Linked DNA regions of Homo sapiens: region 1 is linked to region 2. Evidence: promoter capture Hi-C in human tissues and cell types (Jung and others, 2019). All regions are on one chromosome and are shown on one strand. Each heading gives the region's core, a stretch centred on a gene start or on the middle of the fragment in contact. The rest is flanking DNA. Distances are from core to core; before and after follow the strand shown. Region 1 holds the start of FAM124A (family with sequence similarity 124 member A). Region 2 overlaps WDFY2 (WD repeat and FYVE domain containing 2).

Region 1 (2,700 bases), core at 79-2,578, 380 kb after region 2:
AGCTATGAATAAGTTTGGATAACAGAGAAAGCCCATTGCTGGGTGAATGCCCTAGGGAGTAAAGTCCCGCATTTGGGCTAGGAGTGGTGGGGCAGGAGGGGCCCTGTGGGGAGCTTTGCCGGGGTTGGGTTAGAACTCTGGGTCGATCGTGGGCCTGGATTCTCTACCTGCCCTCACAGGGTTGCCAAATCCTGAGATTAGTCTAAAACCTCTCCGACCTTCCAGGAATGAGGCTTTCTGTAGTCTAGGCAGCTCCCGCCCTCCCCCAGGATTACTCCAGATAGGAAAAAACACCCTTTCCTCCTGGGTCAGTACCCGCGGCCTGGATGTGGTGCTGACTCTGCACAGGAAAGTCCTTTAGAGACAGAGGCTGCCTGGAAGCCTTTATAACGACATTCATCTCCTAAAAGGCATTTTGTCTTTTCTTCCGCTCAGGAAAACAGTGTTTGGAGACTAACTAATTAGTCTCCAAAGGTTTGAGCCCATTGTTTGAGTCCGCTGAAGCGAAGAGAATATTAAAAAAAAAAAAAGGCAGGGCTAGATCCTAATCCCAACACCATCTCCATCCCGCCGGTACAACAGGCCAAAGGGTCCAGCTGGGACAGGTGCACTTAGAGGTGAGGAAGTTCGGCGGGACTGGAGGAGTCGGGGAGGGGGACTCGGCAGCACAGATTAAAGTCCCACGATGAAGCCATATAACGAGAAATGCCATCCTCCTAGCCGACTTCGGAAAGACTTTTAGGTGCGGGTGTCCCACCCTGCTTTTCTTCCTCTCCCGATCTCCAGGGCCGGACTCCAGGGGGCTCCGGAGCTACAGGAGGAAAGTCCCCGAGGAAGGAGGAAACAAGTGCAAGAGCATCTCCTGTCTCTAGCGATGCAGACAAGGGGTCTTTGCATCCGCCTGGCGCTCTGCATCGCCTCACAGGATGGGTGGGCTTGCACTGAACCTTGAGTCCTTCCACTTTCCTCCCCCCGGGTGGTGCCCGCCCTGCCCAGGGCAGCGCGGCCCGCCCAGGAGAGAGCGGGGGATCCGGCAGGAGGAGAAGCCCCGCGCCCCGGTCCCGTCGCACGGATCAGGAGGGTCCCCGTCCGGGGAGGAGCCGCCGCGCAACTCGGAGAGCGCCCCCCGCCCGCGGCCCGGCCCGGCGCGGCTCACCCTCCGGTCTCGGCGCCCGAGTCCACGCAGTCGTCCTCCTCGCCGCCGCCGCCCGCCTTTGGGTCCATGGTGCACGTCCCGGCCGCGCTCGGCTTGCGGGCGCCGTCGTGACCCGGGGCGCCCTCCCTCCCGGCCGCCCAGTCCGAGCCGGCCGGGCTCCCTCCGAGCGTCTGGCGGCCCGGGAGCCGGCAAACAACTCAAGCGCCAGCCGCGAACCCCGCGCCGCGCCCTCTCCCGACCGCGCCCGGCTGGGCACCCGCGCCTGCGCCCGCGCCCGCCCCGCCCCTCGCCGTCCGGCGGGACCCGCGTGTGCGCGCGGCGGTGCGCGGGGAGTGCGCGTGCGAGCGCGTGTGCGAGCGCGTGGGGGGCGTGTGAGCGTGAGTGGCCGAGGTGTGTGGTCTCACACCCGTGCGTCTGTGCATGCGGTGTGATGTGGGTGCGGTGTGCACTCCTGGTTGCACGCGACTGTGGCTGTGCTGAGCGCGTGTGCCCGTCTGTGGTGCGTGACCGCGTGTGTGTTGTGGGGGCGGGGTAAGTGTGCACACGAGAGCCGCCTCTCTCCCCCAGGCCCACAGTCCGGGAATCCCGAGCCCCAGGGCTTGCCACGAGGTTCCCCACCTCCTGATCTGGGAGGAGCACTGAGAAAACCAACCTCAGCGCATCGTGAAAGCTGGGAAGGATTTGTTTCCCTTTTGGGACCAATTCGAACACCTGGGTGTTTTCTTATAGTTTCTGAAGAATTGCTGACGCCAAATTCATTATCACCTTTCTCAGTACACGTCTGAGCGGCATCCCACCCCCTCAACTTGCCAGTTTACAATAGGTGTCATGCATTCTTTTGCTACTTAAAAAAAAAAAAGCCTTTAAAAATAATTTAAAGAGCATTGAATGAACCTGCAATTCACGGGTTGTTGCAGCAAGGGGATAACCTTAGGGTGAGTTAATGATCGCTATTGGAGGGGCTCACCTCCTATTAGGAGGGTGAAGAGGGAGGCAAGTTGGCAGGGCGGGCGGAAGGAGACTTCGAACAACTTGAATTTAGTTCTGACAGCCCTATCCAAACCATTGGGAGGAATTGTCCTTACTGAGCCTAAAATTTCTTGCACCCCAAACAGCAATGGACATATTGGTGGGCATTAGCTGAAAGAAAGGAGCGTGCCAGTTCTTCAAGGGAGATTCCCCTGCCCATTTTTTATCTTGCAGCCAGGAGGGAACCTGCCTTTATTTACTCTGTGTGGGAACAATTCAAACTGTGCCTCATTTGATCCTCAGGGAAGTGCTGTGAAACAGGCTTACTTTTCTATTTTACCGTCAAGGAAACTAAACCCTACCGAGTTCGAGTGCCTGGTCCCAGGACACCCTATCAGTGAGCAGGGAAGCCAGGTAGTCCACTTAAGGTAGCTGGAGCCTGTGCCACTTACCTAGAAGGCTGATGAGTGGGCCAGTTGTATCCTCAGGAAGATGGTACTAAGGAAAAGGCCAGGGAAGAAAGGGTGAAATCAGCATGACTTTTAGAAGATGGGCTTTGGAAAATGAGATGCTAT
Region 2 (2,700 bases), core at 60-2,559:
AAAATTCTCCGGCATAACCATATATATTTCTTTGGATAGAGAATACAAGATAAACCCATTTCCGAGTACACATAGTCCTATTACAGTGATTTTAGGATAAAGAAATGAGGAATTCCTTAGGGATCAGGCCAAGAACTTTTCTCCATATTCAGGAAGAGAAGGTAGAGGGGTAAGACTTGGCTGCCCTGTGTGAAAGATCCTTGTTGCATGCCCCCTGCACCTAGGAGGGCTGTGTTTTTCAGAGAGGGGTCCACTGTGGCGTAAGCAGAAAAGTAACAAGGCAGCAATCTTAGCATCCCTGTGACCCTGACCTCCCAAAGCAGTTTTATTTATTTGTATTTTTATCTTTTTTTGAGACAGAGTCTCGCTCTGTTGTCCAGGCTTGAGTGCAGTGGCGCAATCTCGGCTCACTGCAACCTCCACCTCCTGGGTTCAAGCAACTCTCCTGCCCCAGCCCCCGAGTAGCTGGGATTACAGGTGCCCGCCACTACACCCAGCTAATTTTTGTATTTTTAGTAGAGACAGGGTTTCACCATGTTGGCCGGGCTGGTCTCGAACTCCTGAACTCAGGTGATCTGCCCACCTCAGCCTCCCAAAGTGCTGGGATTACAGGCGTGAGCCACCACACCTGCCCCTGCCAAAGCAGTTTTATAAGGGAAAAGTTTAACACAGCTGAAGCAGAAATGCCCACTGAGATCCATATCAGGGCATATATATTAGACCTTGTGGAAATCCTATCAGTTTTCCTTTCACAAAATCTTAAAACCCATGAGTGGGAGGGAGACTTCACTCATCATAGCCTTCTGAATTTTGCATATACATGTACCATCAACTAAAAACCACCAAGGTTGATTATTTTGTAAATGTAAATGCTAGTATCTATTTCTACCTGCTGTTTTTCATTCAAATATTCAGAATTTCTTCAAGGGAAACAAACTACCAAATAAGTAACATTTTTAAAACCTTACTTCTTTTGTACTATGATTATTTTATTTCAAATTGTTGCAATCTCCTAGCTAAACTCCATTTCAAGTAACTAAATGTTTCTGCCATTTTGATCCCATTCTCTCTGCAAATCCATCCAGGATTTTTTGCCATCATTAACCTCACTTTTCCACATACATAAGCATGAACTACTAGGCAACAAAAGCAACAGACAGATAAACTTTTTAAGCAAAAGTTTTGAAAAAGCAGAAATAAGCAATGTCGGGTCCTGAAAATAGTGACTATAGCAGCATCCCTCAAAGGACAAACTTACTTGTGCAATGTGAAAACAGTTCATTGCTTCAAAAGTTTTCAAGTTCAAGTTCAGTCCTTCAGGCTTAAGAATGTAGTTTCCCAGTAATTATATAATGGTAAGGACATCAATGAAGTTCTTATGACCAAAATATAAGAACTTCAATTATAGCCAAAGACCCTTAGAAAAGTGCCTATGAGCACTGGAAATCTCAACACAGTAATCTCAAGAACTCAACCGTTTGTTCACTTATCAATAAAGCAACAACTTGGTATATAGTATACAGTTCTTCTGGGTTCAATTCTGACAATGATCTATACTTCCACTAATTCAATAATGAGAAATTATTAAAGAGTAAAGTAGAACATTTTTAAAAAGAAAACAAAAAATTAAAGTGAGGTGGGAGGAGGACCACACACTGGAGAAATATAATCTACCTGTAGACAAGCCCACACATGCCCCCAGAGCCTCAAGAGAACTTTTCTGGACCGCTTCTTCTCCGTATACTACACTGAACTGTGAAATTAAATTGTTCAAACTTAAAATAATTCCAACTTAAAGCTATTGGAATTTTAACTTATTCTGAGCCTTGAGAGGAATATGGCTACACAGCCCAAGTCACGTGGTGTACAGCTGCAACTTCTGCCTTTTTTCCTGTAAATAATTAAAAGGCCAAGCAGCACCAGAGATAAGACCCCCTCAGATCCTTGTCCCTTCTCATGGAGTAAGGAATCTTCCCTGGAATGTAGCAATCTGTAACCAATCAAATCGTTGTGGTGTATGTTCTGGTCTTATATGAACAATGCAATCTTGCTGGAACTTCTCTGTCTCTACCCATGTAAGTGAAACCTTAACTTCACTTTGGAACACTGAGCCCATTCACTTGGAGTCAGTGTTTCCAGGTGATCATCCTCAAGCTTTGCACTCAAACTGTATTTAAATCATATTTTCTGAATCTCATTATTTAAGGTTGACAGAACCTTTTAGGATTCGGTGAACTTTACTTTCTCAAACTTTGCCCTATCCTATCCACATCGAACTCAAAGATTTATATTTTGCATATCTGATGTGACAGAAATTTCCCAAATGGAAGCTCAATAAGAAAAATAAGTCAGAAAAGTCACACTGCAACCAAACTCCAAACCAATTTAATCCATTCAAACAGCATGCCAATTCAGCTAACTATGCATGCAGATTAACCTCCTTAATTTAATTTTATTTTCTAGATAAAAATTACTCATCTTTCAAAACTGTTTAACAATCTAAGCTCTGACATGTAAAGAGAATTAATTATTCAAATATAAATTCAAAAATATCCCCCAAATCGAAATATAATGAAATGAATTAGCCATTCCAACACTCCTTCTCCCCCAACGAACACTAAAACAGGTTACTGAGATTCTAACAGCAAGGCATGTAAACTGACTCCAGGAATATTAATCCAGATGCACAAAATAAAAAGC

Evidence for each region. The method cuts DNA at HindIII sites, captures the fragments that hold promoters and counts their contacts. A contact is called where the count stands out against the background at its distance.
Region 1: the fragment with the promoter of FAM124A here is called in contact with a fragment that was not itself captured in region 2 in 1 of the 25 tissues and cell types used here (dorsolateral prefrontal cortex).

The regions. Positions count from the first base shown.
Region 1 is chr13:51,221,026-51,223,725 of GRCh38, reverse strand. FAM124A (family with sequence similarity 124 member A) reads right to left here and starts at 1,328. Exons shown (of 4, transcript NM_001242312.2): 1 at 1,157-1,328. The coding sequence starts at 1,224. RefSeq lists silencers at 1,380-1,439, 1,560-1,609 and an enhancer at 1,390-2,180. The HindIII fragment of the contact is 11,319 bases long and covers 1-2,700 here.
Region 2 is chr13:51,596,012-51,598,711 of GRCh38, reverse strand. All of the region lies in intron 1 of WDFY2 (WD repeat and FYVE domain containing 2), which reads right to left. It also overlaps the pseudogene ATP5PBP1. Among named protein-coding and RNA genes, the nearest start is that of WDFY2, 13 kb to the right of the region's middle. The HindIII fragment of the contact is 4,599 bases long and covers 1-2,700 here.